Linked DNA regions of Homo sapiens: region 2 is linked to region 1. Evidence: promoter capture Hi-C in 16 types of primary human blood cells and fetal thymus (Javierre and others, 2016). All regions are on one chromosome and are shown on one strand. The core of a region is centred on a gene start or on the middle of the fragment in contact, and the rest is flanking DNA. Distances in the headings are between cores, read along the strand shown. Region 1 holds the start of OSBPL1A (oxysterol binding protein like 1A). Region 2 holds the start of LOC124904268 (a long non-coding RNA gene).

The links. The method cuts DNA at HindIII sites, captures the fragments that hold promoters and counts their contacts. A CHiCAGO score of 5 or more calls a contact.
Region 2: a contact is called between a fragment that was not itself captured here and the fragment with the promoter of OSBPL1A in region 1, in 1 of 17 cell types (M2 macrophages). The highest score is 5.9, in M2 macrophages.

The regions. Positions count from the first base shown.
Region 1 is chr18:24,396,574-24,401,824 of GRCh38, reverse strand. It overlaps OSBPL1A (oxysterol binding protein like 1A), which reads left to right and starts at 4,001. Exons shown (of 28, transcript NM_080597.4): 1 at 4,001-4,170. LOC124904268 (a long non-coding RNA gene) reads right to left here. Exons shown (of 3, transcript XR_007066314.1): 3 at 1-725. RefSeq lists a silencer at 3,938-4,067. The HindIII fragment of the contact is 23,089 bases long and covers 1-5,251 here.
Region 2 is chr18:24,357,339-24,362,589 of GRCh38, reverse strand. The region is part of intron 4 of OSBPL1A (oxysterol binding protein like 1A); the gene reads left to right. It overlaps LOC124904267 (a long non-coding RNA gene), which reads right to left. Exons shown (of 3, transcript XR_007066312.1): 3 at 2,560-2,598. It overlaps LOC124904268 (a long non-coding RNA gene), which reads right to left and starts at 2,514. Exons shown (of 3, transcript XR_007066314.1): 1 at 2,479-2,514; 2 at 1,667-1,741. The HindIII fragment of the contact is 4,252 bases long and covers 1-4,246 here.

The DNA.
Region 1 (5,251 bases), core at 2,752-5,251:
CTGTAATCCCAGCACTTTGGGAGGCCAAGGTGGGCAGATTGCTCAAACCAGAGTTTGAGACCACCCTGGGCAACATAGTGTGACCCTGTCTCTATAAAAAATAAACAAAAGTTAGCTGGGCATGGTGGCTCGCGCCAGTAGTCCCAGCTACTTGGGAGGCTGAGGTGGGAGAACTGCTTGAGCCTGAGAGGTTGAGGCTGCAGTGAGCCATGATCATGCCACTGTACTCTAGCCTGGGTGACAGAGCAAGACCCTCGTCTCAAAAATAAAAAAAATAAAGAAAAAAAAAAAGAAAAAGCAAGCTAAGGGCTAAAGGTTGAGTTGAAAATGTTGCCCAAGGAGAACATACCTTATGGGAAAAGCTATGAAAGACTATCTCTCAACTTTGCTTCTTCTGAAGAAAGACAAAAGGATAGGAAAATGAAAATAATTGGAACATATTCTTTCCCAGTGTTGGCACTGAGGAAAAACTATAGACTATTCCTACTACCCACATCCCCAGGAGTGCCCTAATCCGGCCTTTGCCAAGCCAGATTTCCAGCTGTTTCTTTGATGTCTGAGTGATATATTCTTTATTTGCTTAAGTTAGCCAGCACCAGTGCTTGCTGCTTACAACCAAGAAACTCTACAGAAGACATAAGGGTCTCTTCCAAACTTTTTGTGTGGGGAACCAGCAAAATCAATCACTGCTGGAAGGCAGTTGCTTAGACATCTGTGTGTCATACCTGCAGGAAAAGAGAGATGGGTACAAAATTAAGTCTAGACCAAAAGAATTTAATATCTGAAACTATACCAATTCATTCCTGTTATTAAATAAACTGAGTGAAATGGCACAAATGACAAATAACAAATTTAGACCACTTTTAAGAGAGAAAAACTCCCAATGACCTCATAGCTTTGATGGTCTGGAGTTAATAGTAACTACAAAGTCTTTCATATGTAGGTATAAGGGAATGATTCATTTCCCTCAACTCAATGGTTTATCTGCATTCGCCTGATGACATCTGACCTACTTTTCAGTATTCCAGGCAGTAATTACCCAAAGCCCTCCCCAAAGTCTCAGTCCATAAAATCCTCCTTTTAATGAGACTTAAGCCTTTAGCGTGTTCCTGCACCACTTCAAAGTCACACTGGCACCAGGGGAGTGTTTTTAAAACATGCAATGCACTAAGTGCATTCTGGGATGTCTCAGGCTTGAGACAAAACTGCAAGGACCAGACATTAGGTACTACAATCTAAAGAGGATCACATTCTGAAGGAGGTCATTGGAATGCGGGGAGGGGGATGACAGTAGAGAGATTTGGGCTCCTAAGTTTCCTGAAACAAAAGAGTCCAAGGTGAATCCAGTCTGAACCAGGCAATGAACAATTCTGATGAAGCCCATCCCAGTCTTAAGTTACCCGGTTCACTTTTCAATGTGGGTCAGGCAGGCCCGGGAATGGCAGGGCCAGGGGTTAGATACTCCCAAATCCATTTCACAACCAGTCAGAGCTTCCATTGCAATTCCTACTTATATATGTAGGGATTATATTACTAGTTACTTTAATATGCCGCATCTGCAAAGTTAAAATATCTATCTGCCTAAAGCTCAGAAAGGAATATGAAGGAAAATATTTATTAACTAGTTCCAGAGGTTCTACTTCTGCCAAATGTTTCTTAAAATAGAGTATGATATGACGGGGACAATCTAGTGATAGTTTTGTTATTCTAGAACTGCACTGCCCAATATGGTAACTGCTATCCACATGTGGCTATTTAAATTAAATAAAACTTGAAACCGTCAGTCACACTGGCCACATTTCAAGTACTCAATAGCCACATGTGGCTAGTGGCTACTGTACTGGACAAGGTAGAATTATAGAACATTTCTATCATCGCAGAAAGTTCCATTAGACACAGTGTTCTAGAATAATGAATTCTGTTATGCCATCATGGTGATTTTACCTGTACTAGCCGTCAATAATATAAATGCCCATGAGATATCTTTTCTGCATATTTTATGGAAATACCAAATAAAGTCCTTTAAAGATACAGTATAAATAGTAATGCTATCAAGATTGGAACTTCTCTTATTGATAACTGTAGTGATTACTACTTCATCCTCCTATTGACTGCAATCTGTTTTTCATTTGCAAACTGTAGAAGGGAGTTGCAAAGTGCAAGTTGTGAATTTAGGTAATTAAATCATCACAGAGAGAATGAAGGCTTTCATGGAATCATGGAAAATTATTTCAGTAGCCAATTATTATTGTCATTATTTCGGTAGTTTTATTTTGGCTATGAAGATGGTTCAAGGCTGGGTGTGGTGGCTCACACCTATAATCCCAGCACCTTGGGAGGCTGAAGTGGGTGGATCACCTGAGATCAGGAGTTTGAGATCAGACTGACAAACATAGTGAAACCCTATCTCTACTAAAAATACAAAAGTTAGCCGGGTATGGTGGCACGCACCTATAGTCCCAGCTACTTAGGAGGCTGAGGCAGGAGAATCGCTTGAACCTCGGAGGCAGAGGTTGCAGTGAGCTGAGATTGCACCACTGCACAAGAGTAAAACTCCATCTCAAAAAAAAAAAAAAAGATGGTTCAATATCCTTAGATAGTAAGCCCTGAGGTTTCTTCTTTTCCAGACAAATACAGCTGCTTTAGTTACCACACATTTTGCAGTTGAAGTATTGTGCTAGTAAAGTGCCTGCTTTGTTAATAAAAGATGATGCCAGCCTGAGATACACCAGCAGGATTGCTTGTGGTATCCAAAAACATCATTTCAAAAGATCTGCCATATGCTGTTTCACACATATCACAATGACCAAAAGGGCCTATTATAGGTTCTCAATACATGCTTCTAGACTTGATGGAAAAACTACAGTCCTTTTAAAAATGATACCTATTTATTACTTTTTCATTGCAAAAGAACATGTTCATTAAATACATTTAGAAAATTCAGGAAAGCAGAAATCAGTTTTCGTATGCTCGTAATTTCCTGTCTTTTTAGTTATGCAGAAATGCTTTTAAAAAGCAAAGCTGTGGCCTGCAGGGGTGACTCACGCCTGTAATCCCAACACTTTGGGAGGCCCAGGAGTTGGAGACCAGCCTGGGCAACATAGGGAGAGTCTGTCTCTACTAAAAATACAAAACTTGTCCGGGCGCGGCAGGGCGCGCCTGTAGTCCCAGTCCCTTGATTACCCGCCTGTAGTCCAGCTGAGGCCGGAGGATCGCTTGAACCCAGAAGACGATGCTGCAGTGAGCCGAGATCGCGCCACTACACTCCAGCTTGGGAGACAGAGTGAGACCTTGCCTCAAAAAAAGAAAAAAACAAAAACGGTGGAATTATACTAGAGTTTGAACCTTCACGTTATAGACTATTTGCTAACTCCTCTAGCTAGACGCCTTGTGCATGGAATCTGGAGGAGAGGAGGTGAGGAAATTTTGTAAATCCTTGTCTCACGCATATCTATTCTATAATGGTTACACCTGTATGGCATTTTAAGCGCTTCCTTTCACAGGTGAAAGTAAAAGGAGGTGTTTTTTTGTAAATTGTCTAATTTACATTGCCAATTAAGTTCCCACGGGTCGAGTTGCAGCCAAAGCAAAAAAGAAAAAAATCTGGGCAGCTGGATAACCTATTGCTTAATGACAGACTTCAGACTATTAACCCAGGACTTATATTTTGCCTGGGGACGCGAGTCTTCCACTGGCTCACACGGGCGGTTCCTTGTAGTCTCCGGGTAAGGCCTGCCACTTCTTCCCTCGGGGTGTGGTGGGAGGAGCGCGAAGGCTTTACGCGTCCCTAGTAGCTGGCAAAACCTGGAACCAGCGCCGGTGGCCCAGGCGGGACAGGAGCGGGCCGGGGGCGTGGGCAGGCCAGGCAGGGGCGGGGAGTGGGCGGGGAACGGGCGTGTCCCCGCTGCGGTCACGTGTCGGGAGGGATGCCAGCTCGCCAGGAGGATGCGCGTTCCAGGGGCGGGCTGCGGGGAGGGGCGGCGCCACCTCGCGCTCCGCCGTGGTCCCGGCGCCGGGTCCCGGAGACAGACGTTACGCGGGCTCGAGCGTCCTCGGGGAGTGCCAGCCAGAGTTGGTGACGACCACTTCCTCGACGTGGGGCGGGCGGACGGGAAGCCTGGGGTCGTGGCCACCGCCTCGGGAGCTCTGGGAGCCCGGGTGACCGCGTAGGTCAGTTTCTCGCGGCTGTCCACGCCTGGAGTTCGAGGCCGGTTCCCGCGCTGACGGGTTCCCGCCGGGCTGCGCTCGGGAGGTCTGTCCGCGCCTGGTTGGGGGTGGGCGCTCCCGTCCCGGGCGTCTCAGAGGATGGTCGGGTCGTGGCGCGGCGACGCAGGGCTGCAGCCGAGCTCGGCTTCCCGGCGGCCGCTGGCTGCTCCAGCGCTGCAGGAAGTTAGGCGTTAAAAGTAACAAGATGTTGGCGTTTGTTGCACTTCCCACTCGGGTGCCACGACCATGCTGGTGCCGCATGCATCCCCTACCAGATCTTCAGCTGCGTGCCTTCTCGGTACTTTCGTGTGTCCATGTGACTTTTTAATTTCCTCCTAACAAGAGGAGGATTGATGCACAATGGAAGTCACGCATTGTTCATGTGACCGTTTCCCAATGTACCGCGTGGTCGGTTCTACAAGCATGAACGAATATCCAAGGGAGATTCTGAAACTGAATGAGAGCGCAGCTGCACAATAGACTTTAACAATTCACTTATCCCGCTGCCCTAATGATTGGCAGGAGGCATTGAAAAGGGTTATTCTGATTTAGTATTAGTTTTCAGTTCAAGTTGTCGTTTTTAGGCAGACGGTATTGTGAAATGGAACTGTGGGCAGTGTGATATTCTTAGCTTAAATAAGGTTGCTTGAATGTTGCAAATGTGGCTATTAGGTGTCTGTGAATAGTTAATAATATAATTAAATCAGCTTTAAAATCGGTGATGTGTTTTCCCTGAAAACTTCAGTCTTTGCCCTGTAATAGGTGCATTCTGGATTTGGAGTTTGGAACCTCCTCACCTCTTTACTCAGCATCTGGGAAATAATTTGCAGATTCGTTTTGAGGGGTAGAAGTATTTGCAGTCTAACCCCGATACAATGAATTTTTTGCAGCAGTTTGATAGGTATAAATTCTGAACCACCCCCCTCCCTCCCCACCCCAAGCTGGAATTGTGAAGATTTCTTAATTACAGCATAGTAACAAAATCCACCTTTTAATTCCCTAATTCTAAACCACTAGGTGGGCTTTGTCTACAGTTTATAGGGGG
Region 2 (5,251 bases), core at 871-3,370, 37 kb after region 1:
GAATTTATCATGAGTTAAAGAACAAATTTATTATTATATTGTTTCACACTTTTCATTATTCTAATGACTAGATTTAACTAACTTTTAATACGTTACCATGAGTCAATTCTGTATGTGCTAAGCATGTTTGAATTAGTACATTTTATACCACTCTTGTCTATTTGTTCATAAATTGATACTTGTGAACCAGATATGGAGTCTTAACTCAAGCTGAGAAAAAAGAACCTTTTATAATAAACAATAAAGGTTGTGGTTAATTTCTATGCTTGACTTTGTGGGGTTTCAAATATGAGCTGCAGATGGCTCGATTTGCCTGACTACGTGAACTACTTGCTGTTTTTTTTTATGGTCTTGCTCATTCTTTTCTATATACCTAAGAAAATTCTATTGTCATCTATTTCTACATGGCCCAGATCTACCCATTCAAAGTGCTACTCAAATGTAATATCCATAAATTCTTTCCTAACATCTTGCAGCTGGAAGGAAACTATACTCTTCCAGGATTCCTGGGCACAGTACAGCACTTTCATTCGTCTTCTACCTTGTATTAGTGTTATTTTTGTCTATGTCTTTTTTTTTTTTTTTTTTTTTTTGAGATGGAGTCTCCCATTGTCACCCAGGCTGGAGTGCAGTGGCACGATCTCACTTCACTGCAATCTCCGCCTCTCGGGTTCAAGTGATTCTCCTGCCTCAGCCTCCTGAGTAGCTGGAATTACAGGCATGTGCCACCATAGTGTGTATTTTTAGTAGAGACAGGGTTTCACCATGTTGGTTGGCCAGGCTGGTCTCAAACTCCTGACCTCAAGTGCTCTCAATCCCAAAGTGCTGGGGTTATAGGAGGGAGCCACTGCACCCAGTCTGTAGTCTGTGTCTTAACTCTGCTACTAAGTTGCATTAATCTTGCTAGCAAGGAATTATCATGTCTTGTTTTTTGTGTCCCCATGAGCACAAGGTAAGTTTTACCTCCCATCTCTGTAATCACCTAGATCAAATAAGTTCATTTATCTATGTTCAGCTCTTTACATATTTGGCCATTTCTGCTATTTTCTTGAACTTTGAACGTGAGACCATGCTAAATTGAGCCTTAGTTTGACATGAGCATCAGCATATATACAGTAAGTCCTCACTTAATGTCAATGATAGATTTTTGGAAACTAACTTTTGGATAAACGATGTATAAGGAAACCAACTTCACCATAGGCCAATGCATATAAACAAGAGTTAAGTTCCTACAGAATAATTATAGTCACAAAAAAACATCACTGCCAGGCATAGTGGCACATGTCTGTAATGCCAGCACTTTGGGGCGCTGAGGCAGGTGGACTGCTTGAGCCCAGGAGTTCAAGACCAGCTTGGGCAACATAGGGAGACCTCACTTCTACAAAATCAAAAATTAGCCAGATGTGGTAGCATGCATCTGTAGTCCCAGCTACTCGGGAGGCTGAAATGGGAGGATCACTTGAGCCCAGGAAGTTGAGGCTGCAGTGAGCCGCAGTTGTGCCACCACACTCCAGCCTGGGCAGCTGAGTGAGACTCTGTGCCAAAAAAGAAAAGAAAATTACCACACTTCTAAATGAAGAGCAAACACTTCTGATATTAAACATTGAAATAAATGTGAGCTATTCATACATTTAGAAACATTAGTAAAAACAAGATAATTATTTACCCATTTATTCCAGTTCAGGTGTGAGGGTGGCTGGAACCTATCCCGGCAGCTCAGGGAGCACAGGGGGATCCAGGCCTGGAGAGGATGCATCTTGTCACAGGGCCACTCACATACACACCCACACTCACACTGGGACAGTTCAGACATGCCTGTTCACTTGCTATGCACATCTTTAGGAGGTGAGAAGAAAACAGAGTACCTGAGATACCCACGCAGACACAAGGACATGTGAACTCCAACAGACATTGGCCCCCTCCAAGAATCGATTTTTTTTTCTTGTGAACATTGCAATGAAATGATGTTGAATGAAATGGTGTTGTTTGAAGATCTGCTGTATTTTGTTATCTGTTGTCTTAGAAAATAACATTTAGCTGAAGTTACATGATTGTGTTATGTAGGAAACATTAAAATTAAAAAATGTATGTGCTCAATATCTAAGCATGACTGAATTGTGCAAAGAGTTTGGTTTCTAATTCTCATGAAAAGAATCAAGTTATCTCATTCCTATGTGATCATTTACCATGAAGATAATTTTAAAATATCTTATGATCCTGTGATTCAGTAAGTAGAATGTTGAGTTGAAAAGGGATTTGGCTTATTATAAAGCACTTTAAACTCTTATCCTCTGGAATATTTAAAAAATGCAGCTCCCCAGCTTGGCACGGTGGCTCATGCCTGTAATCCCAGCACTATGGGAGGCCAAGGCGGGTGGATCACCTGAGGTCAGGACTTCAAGACCAGCCTGGCCAACATGGTGAAACCCTGTCTCTACTAAAAATACAAAAAAATTAGCTGGGCCTGGTGTCGGGTACCTGTAATCCCAGCTACTTCAGGAGGCTGAGGCAGGAGAATCACTTGAACCTGGGAGGCGGAGGTTGCAGTGAGCCGAGATCGCGCCATCGCACTCCAGCCTGGGTGACCACAGCGAAACTCTGTCTCAAACAAAAACAGAACAAACAAAAAAATCATGCAGTTCCCCAGCTCTTGAGGCACCTTTGGGCTTTTCTTGGTACATTAGTGCCCCCTAGTGTTCTTTGGTAAAAATCAGAATACCAGAATTTTAAAATACTGTGTTTAGTATTTGTTCCTTACTTTACTTTCAGATGCAGTTATAAAGTTTTTATGCCTTTTATAATCAATTTAAAATAGGAATATGGTATGTATAATGAATATTTGGATTGTTGCACTGACCTTTTAGCAGAATTGAGAATACTTTTATTTTTTTTTAATTTTTATTTATTTATTTAGATACAGGATCTCACTCTTTCACCCATGCTGGAGTGCAGTGGGGCCCTCATAGCTCACTGCAGCCTTGAACGTCTGGGCACAACAGATCCTTCCACCTAGAACTATACGCGTGCGCCACTGTACCTGGCTAATTTTTAAAAATCTTTTGTAGAGACAGGGTTTCACCGTGTTGCCCAGGCTGGTCTTGAACCTTAAGCGGTCTTCCTACCCCAGCCTCCCAAAGTTCTCGGATCACAGGCATGAGCCACCACGCCCAGCTGAGAATGCTTGTAAAACACATGCTTCCAGAGCCGGGTGTAGTGGCTCACACCTATAATCCCAGCTACACAGGAGGCGAAGGCAGGAGGATCGCTTGAAGTCAGGAGTTAGAGGCCAACCTGGGCAACATAACAAGACCCCCTCTTCCCGCCCCCCACCATATCTCTCTCTTTCTCTCTCTGTCTCTGTCTCTTTCTCTATAGACAGGGTCTCGCTCTGTCGCCAAGGCTGGAGTACAGTGGTGCAATCTCAGCTCACTGCAACCTCCACATCCAGAGCTCAAGTGATCCTCCCACCCTAGCCTCCCCAGGAATTAGGACCACAGGCATGTGCCACTGTACCTGGCTAATTTTCTGTATTTTTTGTAGGGACAGGGTTTTGCCATGTTGCCCAGGCTGGTCTGAAACTCCTGGGCTCAAGTGATCTGCCTGCCTTAGCCTCCCAAAGTGCTGGGGTTATAGGCATGAGCCACCGTGCCCAGCCAAGACCCCATCTCTAAAAAACTCAAAGCTGGATGTATGGCATGTGCTTGTAGTCCCAGCTACTCTGGTGGCTGAGGCAGGAGGATCGCTTGAGCCCCAGGAGTTTGAGGCTACAGTGAGTGAGCTATGATGGCACCACCGCACTCCAGCTTGGATGACAGAGCAAGACCCTGTCTCTAAAATAGTAAATAAACAAATACAATAAATGCTTCCTATGTTCTGTGTCTCAGAAATTCTCTCTATCTCACCTAACATACAGAATATATGTATAATCCTGGGCTTTAGGATTTCCTAGGAGACCATTTCTCATGTTTATGTATTGAAGGCCTACTGTGTTTCAGGCGATGCCCAGACAACTTGACACGTATCGTTTCATTTGATGGAGAATGACTGCCTTGAAATATATACATATAATTTGTTCTAGATCTGTTCTCAGGGAAGCTGAGATGGAGATGAGTGGGCAGCAGGTTTATGGAGTGCTCGTGGCATCACACCTGTGCACGAGGGTGGGGAAGAAGTGGACAGGAGTGGACAAGTCAAGTAGTGCTGCCGGCTCAAGCGATGCCTCAGCCTTTCTGCTGTGTGCGAAGCTTTGCAGAGGAGATGATGCTTCAAAGTTGTCCCTGTTGGGGATGAGCAGCCAGGCCTTTATACACTGGGACAGTCAGTCATGGATACGTGGATACTCTGGAAACCCTCATCCCTGGAGGTCTGAGCCCCTGGATACCATGCCCTTCTTAGGCTGGAGTTGCTGCCCTTGTCCATTTACCATAAAAATTGGACAAGAGAATACCAGGACACACCTGAGTTTCTCATCGTATGCTAAACCTGTTCTTCCACGTACATCCCCAATGTGTACAGCCCTACTTTTTTCTGCTGATCAAGTTCAATTACTTCTGCTAAGATGGTGACTATTCTTGCCTGCTGGTCCTTGGATGCAAGGACCCCAATGTTCAGGCAGCCTTTGGTGCCTTCTAGCATACGAATCAGAGCATTATCTTTAGGTGTGGAATAAGCTGCCCCAAAACCTGTTGAAGCCAACCAGGCACTGTGCTCCCTTCTGTTATGGGAAGTGCAAGATGCAGTAATTTATTCTTCTGAGGAAGTGTCTTGTCATTGCCCAGACCAGTGAACTTCTAAAAATTTACTGACATGGAAAAGCTCCTGAATTCTTCCTAAGTTTTACCTCCCACCCACTGGATCAGATATGTCTTACCAAGGCTTTGAACATCCTAGCCTCGTGGAGAAGAAGCCTCTTCTCCTGGTTCTGTTAGCATGATGTTATGAAAGGAAATTAAATTTTGGGACCCCAAACTCATTTTGCCAAAGGGAAAAATCAAGCTGAGAACTGGGTCATGCAAACCTGCCTCCCCCTTTTGGTTCCTAAATAAGGTGGCTACAAGAGGAAAAGCTACATGCCTCCCCCATATTTTGCTCACAAGGAAATTCCTAGTGAGCAATGCAAAGTGATAGCTTATCTTTACAGGTGCAGTCACCCAGGCCCACCACACGCAAATGCATATCTAATTGTTCCCCTGCCCCATTTTGTCTGTGTTATGTAGAATGCAGATTCCCTACGTTTTTCTTCTGCCCCGTT